Linked DNA regions of Homo sapiens: all the other regions are linked to region 1. Evidence: promoter capture Hi-C in 16 types of primary human blood cells and fetal thymus (Javierre and others, 2016). All regions are on one chromosome and are shown on one strand. Each heading gives the region's core, a stretch centred on a gene start or on the middle of the fragment in contact. The rest is flanking DNA. Distances are from core to core; before and after follow the strand shown.

Region 1 (4,498 bases), core at 1,508-4,007:
CTCCTGAATAGCTGGAATTACAGGCACACACCACCATGCCCGGCTAATTTTTGTATTTTTAGTAGAAAGGGGATTTCACCATGTTGGCCAGGCTGGTCTCGAACTCCTGACCTCAGGTGATCCTCTGGCCTCGGCCTTCCAAAGTGCTGGGATTACAGGTGTGAGCCACCGCACCCAGTCTAAACAATCTTAATTGATGTCATTAGATATCCATAAATCCTCAGATGCACACTGGGTGAAAATGATAAATAACACAAAGTTCCACCCTCTAGGTCACTCTCATTCAAAGAAACATCTGATGAGAACATCAGAAAAGACTTGAGAGTGAAGTTCAAGGGCAGGAGTGTGGGGCTCAAGAGTCAGAGAGCACAGGCTCAAGAGTCACCTGGATCTCCGCTCAGTTCCCACACCAGCGCTTAGTCGCTGTGTGCTCTTGGATAGGACGCTTGGTTTTCCAGGGTCTCAGTTTTCCCGGGTCTCAGTTTTCCCATTTGGAAAATGGACATAATAATAGTGGACCTCATGGTGCCTTACCCCTCAGCTGAGCTGGAATTATAAATGGCATTGTGAGAAAGCGAATGACATGAGGCCCTTCCCAGGAATCTGAAAGGAGAGGAACTCAGCACTGCGGAGGCCTGGATTGCAGGGTGTGTGGGAAGGGGACCCATAGGAGAGACAGCCTCCCCACTGGTTAAGGCAAAGAGAAGAGATGATGCAGCCCCAGGGGAGGGGCACCCTGGAAAGCTGGGCTGATTGCCAGACCCCTCTCACTTTGTGGGTTGGAGTTTTGAAGGCTCCTTTGCAGGATGACCCCAGGAATTGGAGTTTCAAAGCTGATATTTGGGGCAGGATGGAGGGCTCACCCCGGTATGGGAATGTAGATGAGCCACACCCACACACACTGCCCCCAGTCGTTGACATTTTAGCTGAGACCTGAAAGCAATAATCCCCAGGGAGAGTGCTTTAATGGTGGAATTCCAGGCAGAGCAAGGACGAGTGGAGAAAACGGCTGGATACGTGCCCTCAGGTTGCACACGTATCCTGCCCTGCTTTGAAAAGCAGTTTCTCCCAAGTGCCTCAAGTGCTTGAGATATTCAATAACATTTCAGAGCATTAAAAACTCTGAAAGAAAAGAAAGCCTGCTACCTCTGAGGCCACATCCTCATCCCACCATGAAGATGCCTTGAGATCACAGGGCTTTGTGGTTTTAGTTGGGTTGGTTTCTTTGAAATGAGGGATTATTTTTAATGCGCCAAGACAAATCAGTTTCAAAAGATAAAGCTTATAATGTTGACTTTATTTCACCGTGGAAATTTTGTGCTCAAAGGTAAGAAACCATCTTATATAAAACAATCAAATAAATACATAAATACATTAAAAAAATGAGTCACTTCAAAGGCGGCCACAGGGTTGAGGAAAAAGCCCCTTGTGGAATCAGAAGCAGGTGTCTGCAGCCAGGACTTCCTCTTAATGCCGCCTCAGCACTGTCAGGGAAAGAGAGAGGGTGATGATGGTTAGGGTGGGAGATGGAGGCAGGGGCTGAGCTTACCTCATCGTGTGCCACCCACCACCCTGTTAGTCATCAGACGTTTGAGGCTTAATGCAACTCTCTGAGCCTCAGTTTCCTCATCTGTAAATTGGGGATTATCATTGCTCTGGTGATCCTGCTCTCTGCCTTTGAGACTATAGACAGTTTAGAGGAAACCAGGAGGAAATGTTTGGTTCTCTTTCTGCACCACTGGGGGGCTGCCAAATGATAAACAGACCCCCAAAGGAGATTCTGCCCCTTTGATAAGAAGTAGGAGGTGGGGAGAAGGTATTGTGGGCATGGTAATGAAATAAGCCCACATTTACTAATTCCACAAAGGCACCCCTTGGCCCTGAAGGCTGTTAACAAGAGGAAGCGATGTCCAGGTGACCTTTTCTCAAAGAGTGTGGTTCCCAGAGACAACAAACCCCAAAGTGACTCTAACAGTGTCACACACTGGAATGGGGGAAGGCGGCCGGGGTGGCAGGGGGTGCTTACCTTTGCAGCCCAGGCCACTGGAGGAGCTGATCCGGTCCATCTTCCTCCCAAAGCAGCCAGACCCTTGCACCATCTTGGGGCTTCGTGGTGCCCGCAGGGTGTAGAGGACCATTTTGCGGTGCCCACGGATGCCCTCGGTGGCTACCTCCCGGGACTTCCAGACACCTGTGGGACGGGGGCTCTCCTGGAGGGGCTCCAGGGATGTCTGCTCCACCTGCAGCTCCGACAGTTTGCCCTGCAAATGGTTGCGCTGCTCCTGCAATGAATGGGGGCGTCCAAGCCTCAGGGACCCACCCCTGGGCTCACCAGCCCTTCATGGCACCCAAGTGAACCGACTGCCTTGGGTACAGGGTCAGGGCACCCAGTCTCTCCATTTTCTGATTCCTTTATCACTAATTCCAAAGGAAAGATGAGGGCCTCTTGGGACAGCAGGTGAGGACCCTTTCATTGCTGCTGTCCAATCCCCCTGAGCTGCCCTCCGCTCTCACCTGTAACCCGGACGTTTCCAAGTCCGAGGCTGAACCGGGGCTGCCCAGCGGGTGGGAACGACCTCCCAGGAAAGCCAGATGCAAGAAGAGCAGGAGCAGGAGCGCCCGGGAAGGTGCTGTCTGGGGATCCATGTCTCTGGAGGGACTGCGGAGGCTGCTGCTGCTGCTTCTGCTGCTGCTGCTGCTGCTGCGATGCGTCCGGGTTTGCTTCCCACCTGCCCTCAGCCTGCGGGGTGCTCCTCCTGGCTCCTCGGGACACCGTGGCCTTTTATCCTGGAGCTGAGTGTCGGGCCTGCCCTGCCATGCAGGGTTATCTCTGATTTATCAGCCACATTCCGGGCCTCTGAGATCAGGGCCCGGGAATGAGCCCCTCCGCGCCTGCGACGTGGGAGGTGGAGACCGGGCAGAGCCGACCTTGTATAGAAATGGGCCGGGTCGGGCCGGGGGGCAGGAACGCGCTGGAGACACAGACAAGTCCCCGTCTCCCGCTTCTTCCTTTCCTGCAAATGTCCAGGTGTCCTAGGTTGGCGCTTTCTTCCTGCCTCCCCACCCCACCGTTGCTGGAAAAGGCAGGGAGGACCCCGGCTTTCCGAGGACCGACGTGAGCGCGGGGAGCACGGGGTGACTCACAGCGAAAACAGCCCCGGCCAAGACCCCGCCACCCGCGGCGCCTCTCCCCTCCCCGCGCGAGTTCCCTGGCCCGCACGTAGCGCAGCACCTGCTCGCCGCTGTGCACCCTGCCTGCCTGCGGGTCCTCGGGGGCGCCCTGGCCGCTGTCCGTGGTGCTGATCACCCCGAGGGAACTTGGAGCAAACTCTCAAGAGCTGCTCTCTTCAACGGGATTTTCAGGCCAGAAAGACCTGCGTGGAGCAAGGACAAGAGACCTCCGAGACCTTTCCCTATGCTCTCACAATCCGCCATCTTATAGTCCTTACAGCAACGGGATGCTGATTCCCCAGTGGCAATTCATTAAAAGCCTGGGTATGACCAGGAACTTCTGGAATGCTGACCCTTCTTTCACTCCTTAAAGGGAAGAGCAGATTTCGCTGGAATTTTGAGAGATAGGGTCCAGTGATGACGAAGTCACCCAAGAATGCCTTATATGTGTGTCCTCCACGTGTCAACACCTCCTCTCCCCCACCAAGCCAACACAGGATGGAAAACAAAAGGATAGGCTGGGCATGGTGGTTCACGCCTGTAATCCCAGCACTTTGAGAGGCCGAGGCGGTCGGATCACGAGGTCAGGAGATCGAGACCACGGTGAAACCCCGTCTCTACTAAAATTACCAAAAATTAGCTGGGCATGGTGGCAGGCGCCTGTAGTCCCAGCTACTCGGGAGGCTGAGGAAGGAGAATCACTTGAACCCAGGAGGTGGAGGTTGCAGTGAGCTGAGATCACGCCACTGCACTCCAGCCTGGTTGACAGAGAGCGAAAAAAGAAAGAAAGAAAGAAGGAAAGAAAGAAAGAAAGAAAGAAAGAAAACAAAAGGATGGCTGGAATGATGGTTATCTATTTGCTGGGATACCAGAGATATGGGGATTTCCCCTCTCCCAGTGCCTCCTTCATCTGACCACCCATGATCTAATTATCATTAGCAGGTGGCCTGGTGATTAGAAGTGAGACTTTGGAGAGAAATGCCCCTGAGAAGAGTCATAGCAGCTTAAATACCCCCCTAAAGCATATATGACTGATGTCACTCCCCTTCCAGAGAATTGGTGTCAACAAGCAGCAGGCTGGAGGAGTGGAGCTGTCTATGAGGGGAGAAGAGTTACAGCAGAGAAGGGCAGCAATAAGAAACTGGGACCTCTAAGCAGATCTTGCCTAAAAAATAGCATCTGCCCCTGAGGTGAGAAAAGCACGGTTATTATTCCTCACTTCAGAGGAGGAAATGGTGTTCATGAATTAATCTACTTTCCAAAAGTCACACAATTGACACATGATAAATCCTGGATTCTAACCAGTCTGATTAGTCTAGCCAGCAGT
Region 2 (4,254 bases), core at 428-2,927, 180 kb after region 1:
TTACTTTCCGACCAGTGATGCACAAGAGTTCCAATTTTTCCTCATCGTCAACAGCACTTGCTATTTTCTGGTTTTTCGGTAGTAGCCATCCTAATGGCTGTGAAGTGTATCTCATTGTGGTTTTTATTAGCATTTCCCTAAGGATTAGTGACGTTGAGCATGTTTTAATATGCTTATTGGTCATTTGTATATTTTAAAAATATTTATTAATAGTTTTTTTTTAACTTAAGTTCAGGAGTACATGTTTATTAGTTTATTTTTAATAGAGACAGGGTCTTGCTATGTTGTCCAGGCCTCAGGCTTTTCCTACCTGGGCCTCCCAAAATGCTGGGATTATAGGCACAAGCCACTGCACCCAGCCTGTTTGTATATCTTCTTTGGAGAAGTCAAGTCCTTTGTCCCATATTTCAGTTGGGCTTGGTTTGTTGTTCCACGTGTAATTTTGAGTCGGAGAACCTGTGGGAGTCAGTGGTTTCTTTAGAAATTCTTTGGCCACAGGGAGAAGATAATTCAAAGCCTTTCTGTCAAACAAAAGTTACAAAATCAGGCTGGGCTTGGTGGCTCACTCCTGTAATCCCAGCACTTTGGGAGGCCGAGGCAGGAGGATCACTTGAGGTCAGGAGTTTGTGACCAGCCTGGCCAACATGGCGAAACCCCGTCTCTACTAAAAATACAAAAATTAGCTGGGGATGGTGATGCACACCTGTAATCCCAGCTACTCGGGAGTCTGAGGCGGAAGAATGGCTTGAACCTGGGAGGCAGAGGTTGCAGTGAGCCGGATCATGCCACTGCACTCCAACCTGGGCGACAGTGATACTCTGTCTCGAAAAAGAAAAAAAAGTTACAAAATTTAGGCCAGGTGCCGTGACTGACCCATATAATCCCAGTACTTTGGGAGGCCAAGGCAGGCTGATCACTTGAGGTCAGGAGTTTGAGACCAGCCTGGCCAATATGGCAAAACCCCATCTCTAGTAAAAAATTTAAAAACTAGCCAGACATGGTGGCACATGCCTGTAATCCCAGCTACTTGGGAGGCAGAGGCATGAGAATCACTTGAACCCAGGAGGCGGAAGTTGCAGTGAGCCGAGATGGTGCCATTGCACTCCAGCTTGGGGTACAGAGCAAGACTCTGTCTCAAAAAAAAAAAAATTACAAAATTTACAAAGCTGAGATCAGCTTACAGATTTAGCCGTGTATAACAGAAGTCCAAAACAGCAACAGCCTAACCCAGAGAGAAATGCTTCTTTTCCATCACCGTACAGGCTGGAATGCTGCCACAGGGCCCATAATGCATCAGGGTGCATGGTTTCTCTGGAAAAACAGTTCTTTTGAAACTTTGGAAGACTTCCAGCTTGCTTGCTTCCAGTAAGTTCCATGCACAAGAACCACAGCCCAAAGTCTGTAGACACTGCGCTGAATGAAACCTGTGGCGCCATAGCCTGAAAGACCCTCTTTGTGTGGCGGCAAATAACTCCTGTCTTCCCACGTACTGACCTCTGCTCTGCCTGTTCCTGGCTATCTCTTCAGAAGGCAGCCTCCTTGGGGCCATCTGGAGCCATCAGCGGGGGTAGGAAGACCACAGCCTGAACCAGATCCTTCCTGCTGGTCGCTTGAGAACTCTTTTTCTTTTTAATTTTTGAGACAGGGTCTGTCGCTTAGGCTAGAGTACAGTGGTGCAATCTCGGCTCACTGCAACGTCCTTGCAAATTCAAGTGATTCTCATGCCTCAGCCTCCCGCGTAGCTGGGATTACAGGCGCCTGCCACCATGCCCGGCTAATTTTTGTATTTTTAATAGAGAAGGGGTTTCTCCATGTTGGCCAGGCTGGTCTCAAACTCCTGGCCTCAAGTAATCCACCTGCCTTGACTTCCCAAAGTGCTGGGATTACAGGCATGAGCCACTGCCCCTGGCCTCCGGAGAACGGCAGGGAGGTGCTTGAGAAAGCCCTGGGCCTGGGGCTGCCTCTCCAGTCACTTCTTAGGACTGATTTCAGCATGGGATACAGGCTTATTCAAGCTGAAGGGGCCCCAAGAATGAAGGTTCCAGGCAGGAGGCCCCTAGAGCAGAGCCCATGTCTTGCAGCTCTCCAGCACCCACACAGTTCCATTTCGTGAATGTCCCCACTACCCTCCCAGGTACTTGCAAGCTGTTCTTAATTCTCCTGGGCCTTTCACCCCTACAACTTGGGGTCACCCTGGATGCTCGTCTTGTCTCCCACCCTTGCCCCATCCATGTCTCAGCTTGGATGTCTCTTCTTTCAAGAGGTCCTCCCTGAACCTCTGGGTTCTCAGATCTGCCCCCGCCATCACACAGCCTGCCTTCCTGCTCTTCTCCAAGGCCCCTGAGTAGTAGTATTAAGTAACTAACGGTGAGATGCATTGCCTAAGCTCTCTCCCCTGCGAGAATTGCAGCTTCCTGAAAACAGAGATGGCATTGTTTTTCTTCATTGAAATAGTTTTGTATTGTACTTTTTCAAAAGTACTGGCTGAACTGTGTTCCAGAATTTGGCTTTTCCCTCTAGCCTGGTTTCTTACCTGCCTTGTGAAGGTTACTGGACAAATGCTTTCATTTCTCTGCATGAAAGGACCCTGGTGGTTGGGCACACTCCTGATACACCTTACATGCACCCCCTCTCCCATACTGATAGCATTCTTTTCTTTTTTTGTGCCTTCTGAGTATGTACTGTAAATCCCAAAGGAAAAAGGCAAGATCACCTACTTCTCCCAAAACTAGTGTCTTGTGTTGGTCATTTAGAAATAAGAACAAAGATCTGACTCCTCCATTGCCTGCACCACGGCTTAGAACCATGACCCTGGCCAGGCAGCGGCCTGAAGTTTGTCTTCTTGGACCTAACCATGCTGGAGACAGTCAGCTGAGGACGTGAGAAAAGGCAGAAGCTCAAATCCAGCCTGGGCAACATAGCAAGACCCCATCTCTCTTAAAAAAAAAAAAAAAAAAAAAAGGCCGGGCACAGTGGCTCATGCCTGTAATCCCAGCACTTTGGGAGGCCAAGGCGGGCGGATCATGAGGTCAGGAGATCGAGACCATCCTGGCTAATATGGTGAAACCCCGTCTCTAATAAAAAATACAAAAGAATTAGCCGGGCATGGTGGCGGGCACCTGTAGTCCCAGCTTCTCCGGAGGCTGTGGCAGGAGAATAGTGTGAACCCGGGAAGTGGAGCTTGCAGTGAGCCAAGATCGCGCCACTGCACTCCAGCCTGGGCGACAGAGCGAGACTCCGTCTCAGAAAAAGAAAAAAGAGGCTGGGCATGGTGGTTCACATCTGTAATCCCAGAACTTTGAGAGGCTGAGGCGGGTGGATCACTTGAGGTCAGGAGTTTGAGACCAGCCTGGCCAACATGGTGAAACCCTGTCTCTATGAAAAATACAAAAATTAGCTGGGCATATTGGCAAGCACCTATAATCCCAGCTACTCAGGAGGTTGAGCTATGAGAATCACTTGAACTTGGGAGGCGGAGGTTGCAGCAAGCTAAGATCGCGCTATTGCACTCCAGCCTGGGTGACAGAGTGAGACTCCGCCTCAAAAAATAAAAATAATTAAAATAAGAGCTTTTTTAGAGGCAGGTTCTTGCCCTTGCCCAGGCTGGAGCACAGTGGCTATTTACCCCACTGCTGATCAGCACTGGAGTTTTGACCTGCTCTATTTCCAACCTGAGCTGGTTTAACCCTCCTTAGGCAACCTGGTTTCAAGGAGGTCACCATATTGATGCTCAAGTTAGTGCAGACACCCCATCAGCATAGGGCACCAAAGCCCCGAACTGGGCACAAGTGATCCTCCCGCCTCAGCCTCCTGAATAGGTGAGACAACTGGCGAGCACCACCACACCTAACAAGGCAGGGAGATGGATTCCTCAATAGAAAGGTGTGGAGCTGGCCGGGTGCGCTGGCTCCCACCTGTAATTCCAGCACTTTGGGAGGCTGAGGTGGGCGGATCACGAGGTCATGAGATCGAGACCATCCTGGCCAACATGGTGAAACCTCGTCTCTACTAAAAATACAAAAATTAGCTGGGTGTGGTGGCGTGTGCCTGTAGTCCCAGCCATTCGGGAGGCTGAGGCAGGAGAATCGCTTGAACCTGGGGGGTGGAGCTTGCAGGGAGCCGAGATCGCACCACTGCACTCCAGCCTGGGCGACAGAGTGAGACTCTGTCTCAGAAAAAAAAAAAAGAAAAAAAAAATGTGTAGAGCTGATGAATGCTCTCCAACTGGAACCCAACTCCTTGATATGGTCTGTA
Region 3 (4,372 bases), core at 1,458-3,957, 240 kb after region 1:
AGTTTTCAGCAAGGAGTGAAGGGGTCAGATTTACCTCTCAGACTACTGGGGAACTACTGAAGTGTCTGAGTTAAAGAGTGACAGCCATGAAGCTAGTTTTTTTTTTTTTTTTTGCTTTTTTTTTTTGAGACGGAGTCTCACTCTATCGCCCAGGCTGGAGTGCAGTGACGCGATCTCGGCTCACTGCAACCTCCGCCTACCAGGTTCAAGCAATTCTCCTGCCTCAGCCTCCTGAGTAGCTGGGATTACAGGAGTGTACCACCATGCCCGGCTAATTTTTGTATTTTTAGTAGAGACGGGGTTTCACCATGTTGGCCAGGCTGGTCTTGAACTTATGACCTCAAATGATCCATGCGCCTCGGCCTCCGAAAGTGCTGGGATTACAGGTTTGACCCACCGCACCCGGCTCGAAGCTAGTATTTTTGAGAGGTTCTTGCGTGTTGTTCTAGGGCAGAGGTGCTTACCCTGGGGTCCATGGACTCAAAGGTAGATTTCACAGGGTTCATGAACCTGAATGGATTCAATTATTTTAATTAGCTTCTAGCTAAAATTCACTTATGAATTCCGCCCATTATGAATTAAGGCAACAAAGCACAGTGGTAATTGTAGTACACGGCTTTGTCCTCAGCGGAAATCATAGATATTCTCAGATTATATTACAGTAGCTGCAGATGTTGTGAAATGTTGTCTGGGCTCATCATTGCTTTGAAACTGTGGAGTTATTTTACCCTATTATTTAATGAGTTTACAAAGAATCACATGTTACTGTATCTTTTTTTTTTTTTTTGAGATGGAGTTTCGCTCCTGTTGCCCAGGCTGGAGTGCAATGGCACGATCTCGGCTCACTGCAACCTCCGCCTCCCGGGTTCAAGTGATTCTCCTGCCTCAGCCTCCCCAGTAGCTGGGATTACAGGCGCCTGCCACGACACCCAGCTAATTTTTGTATTTTTAGTAGAGACGGTGTTTCACCACGTTGGCCAGGCTGGTCTTGAACCCCTGACCTTATGTGATTCACCCACCTCGGCCTCCCAAAGTGTTGGGGTTACAGGCGTGAGCCACCGCACCCGGCCTGTTACTATATGTTATTTTGTTTAATGCTTTGATAACCATATTCCAAGGTAGTTGGATTCCTCTGCATTCCTGCATATTTTATTCATGAATTCATGATTCTGTGCAGTGTCCACAGGCTTCCTTAGAATGATTAGGGGCACAAGAAATATTGGGAACCCCCTGGTCTATTTTCATTGTAACTGGCAGAAGGGCTCAAATAAGACAAAAGAGAAATAATTGGCTCCCTAACAGAGAAGTCCATGGACACCCTACATTCAGATGTTTGAACGATGTCCTCAGGAGCCCATTTCTCTCCAACTCTGGCTTCTGCTGGCTTCTGAGTCACCTCCTTCTTAGGCAAGTCCTGCCCACACCATGCCCACGCTCAGGCTGTGATGACCTGGGCAGCTCTGGGCTTAACTAGCCCTTTCAGCCAGGAATCCAGTAGATAAACGGAGGACATCTTTCTGGATTGCTTTTGTGAAACTCTCAGAGATGAGGCTTATTGGCTGGCATGCCTGGGTCATGTGCCCATACTAAACTAATCACAGTGGTGAGGAACATGGAGTACTCTGATTGGCCTGCTTGGGTCATGTGGCAATCCTGAGCCAATTATATTGATGGGAAGAAGTATTCTGATTGGCCTGCTTGGGTCATGTGCTCATCCTGGAAGCAAGGTAGGCAGCGATTGCTGGGTGACTTGTTTATCTCGAAATCAGGCTGGATTAGGGTCTTAGTGGCAGGAGTGTCCAATCTTTCGGCTTCCCTGGGCCACATTGGAAGAAGAAGTGTTAGTGTGGAAGAAGTGAATTTAGTCTAACACTAAGGATAGTGTTTTAGCTTATAGCTGATGAGCTAAAAAAAAAAAAAAAAAAAATCACACACACGCAAATCTCATAATGTTTTAAGAAAGTTTATGAGTTTGCGTTGGGCCTCATTCAGAGCTGTCCTGGGCCGAATGCGGCTAGTCGTGGGTTGGACAAGCTTGGTCTAGACTTTCATGGTCTAAAGTTATGGCTCTCCTAATTCCTGCAGTGAGATAAGACCCCTGCAGAGAATGATGACAACCGGTGCTCATATAGTGCTTGTTGGGTGCCAGGGACTGCTGTAGTACTTTATACATATTTATCTTCACAGTCCATTCAGTCCTTTCAAGAACACTAGGAGGTGGGTCCTATTACTAACTTAATAGTGCTAAATATATACACGTACTATGTACCCTCACACACACACACACACAAATAGTGCTGACAAGGTCATTATCACGCAATTGGCAAATGGCAGCCCTAGAATCCCAGGCCCAGCTCTTCTCTATAACTATGTTGCTTTTCCTTGCCTGCTAGGGGACCTTAGGCGAGGGTTGCCCCTCCTGGGTGTCAGTGCTTCCATCCATAACACAAGAATTGGACTGACAGTTTTCGGGGGTTGGAGGTGGAGCTGGGAGGGGCGTCAGGGATGAGAGGTGTGGGGCATTGGGTCATAAGGCCTTTGCTAAGTCAGCCTGGCTTGGAGCTTCTCTGTTTCTTTTCCCAGGGCTGTTCCCGACACAGCAGTGCCCACAGAGGCCTACTGACTGCAGGAAGCAGTGTGAGCCTGACTACTACCTGGATGAGGCCGACCGCTGTACAGCCTGCGTGACTTGTTCTCGAGGTAAGGGCCTTGTTCTCTCTCCAGGGCCTCCTTCTAGGGAGCATGAGGGGTCCTCAGAGGAGAGGTGAAGAATCTGGAAGGTGGAGAGCATCATGATTTGATGTCTGTTCTCTGAATTGTCCTCCTGGTGCCTCAGTTTACCTCTCTGCATTTGTGATTTGATATCAGCCATGACCTTTTGCATCCATACTTTCACAGAGACTTAACATGTTTCCTGAAGGAGAGGACTCACATTTTTTTGAGTTTAATCCTCACCACAGCCCTAGGGGAGGATTTCTTGCTTATCCTTACTTTACAATGAGGAATTTGAGGATAGGGAGGTTAAGGGCCTTTCCAAAGTTACAAAACTCTGGTAAGTGGCAGAACTGGAGTTTGAGTTGTGGCCTGACACCAAGAGCTGTGTTCTTTTCCTAAGATCACAGGACTTCCAGGAAAACTGTTTCAGTATGACCTTTTATTGTTAGTCTCTTATTATGGTTAGAGAATGCAGTCTGTGTGCTATCTAGTGTTTATTTTTGTGTGGATTTTTTTGGGGGGTAGGGTGGGGGAAATTTGTTGAGATCTTTTTGTGGTCTAATAAATAATAAATGATCATGTATTTTCAGAGTGTTCAGTGTATGGGTGTTTTAAAATGTGTATTCTGTTTGTTGCGTATAAAGTTCTCTACATATCTATTAAGTTAAGCTTGTTAATTGTGTTATTTAAATAATGTGTACCCTTATTTACTTTTATCACCTTTATTTCTGAGAGATGTGTTAAAATCTTATCTCCCAGTATACTTGTTCATCTATTAGATTTTCATTGTGTTCTTTCTATTTTTGCTTCATATATGTCAAAGCTATGTTATTAGGTACATAAATGTTCATGAATGTTATGTTTTTTTGGTGGGTTGGGCTTTTTATCCACATGAATATACCTCTCCATTCCTTGTAATGCCTTTTCCCTTAATTTCACATTTGTTTGGCATTAATATTGCTATTCCTTCCTGGAAGAAGTAGCAAAGGTTAAAAAGAAAGAAAAGTAATAATAATATTGCCATTTCTTCTTTCTTTTTATTAGCATTTATCTGGTGTATCTTTGAATTTCTAAAAGTAATGACTGCATTTTATGAAATGAAAATTATAAACATTTATTATTTAAAATTCAAGCAATACAAAGAGTGTAAGGAAGAAAACAAACATTGCCCTCCCCAGCCCTCCATCTATAGATAACTACTATTATCATTAGATGGCTGACACGCCTCTACCTCTCTGTATAAAGATGGGTAGGTTAGTAACCAGACAGCCTGTACACACTTACAAAGAAGGAATTTTAAGAGAATGGCAACATATTTATGGCATTAAAATGATAATATTTAATTTTAGTCAAAAGTATCAGAAAAAGAAAGCGAAGTGAAACAGAAGAATGCCAAACCTCAGTCAGATTAATGTATCTTCAGCAAAAGATACTGCAATTCCTTTAAAAAAAAAAACCCTCTAAAATTAAGAAAGGAGGTTATGAAAATCAGTAAGTGGTTAATAATCATTTCAGAATCTACTATCTCTTGCAGTAAAGGCAAAATCTGCTTAGTTTGAGTTTTGGACAGTAGAGAATAGATTGACTCCCTGTAATGAAGAACAAAGTAATTATTTTTCCCACCTCCTCATCCTCTTCCTGACTTTTATTCCTTACA

Evidence for each region. The method cuts DNA at HindIII sites, captures the fragments that hold promoters and counts their contacts. A CHiCAGO score of 5 or more calls a contact.
Region 2: a fragment that was not itself captured here is called in contact with the fragment with the promoter of NPPB in region 1 in 2 of 17 cell types (erythroblasts and megakaryocytes); the score reaches 6.3 in erythroblasts.
Region 3: a contact is called between a fragment that was not itself captured here and the fragment with the promoter of NPPB in region 1, in 1 of 17 cell types (neutrophils). The highest score is 5.1, in neutrophils.

What each region holds. Positions count from the first base shown.
Region 1 is chr1:11,856,188-11,860,685 of GRCh38, forward strand. NPPB (natriuretic peptide B) reads right to left here and starts at 2,758. Exons shown (of 3, transcript NM_002521.3): 1 at 2,515-2,758; 2 at 2,027-2,282; 3 at 1,277-1,484. The coding sequence starts at 2,646. The coding sequence ends at 1,468. RefSeq lists a silencer at 3,157-3,323. The HindIII fragment of the contact is 3,284 bases long and covers 1,280-4,498 here.
Region 2 is chr1:12,033,164-12,037,417 of GRCh38, forward strand. It overlaps the pseudogene RN7SL649P. Among named protein-coding and RNA genes, the nearest start is that of MIR6729, 6.1 kb to the left of the region's middle. The HindIII fragment of the contact is 5,792 bases long and covers 1-4,254 here.
Region 3 is chr1:12,094,518-12,098,889 of GRCh38, forward strand. TNFRSF8 (TNF receptor superfamily member 8) reads left to right here. Exons shown (of 15, transcript NM_001243.5): 3 at 2,584-2,700. Among named protein-coding and RNA genes, the nearest start is that of TNFRSF8, 33 kb to the left of the region's middle. The HindIII fragment of the contact is 1,350 bases long and covers 2,033-3,382 here.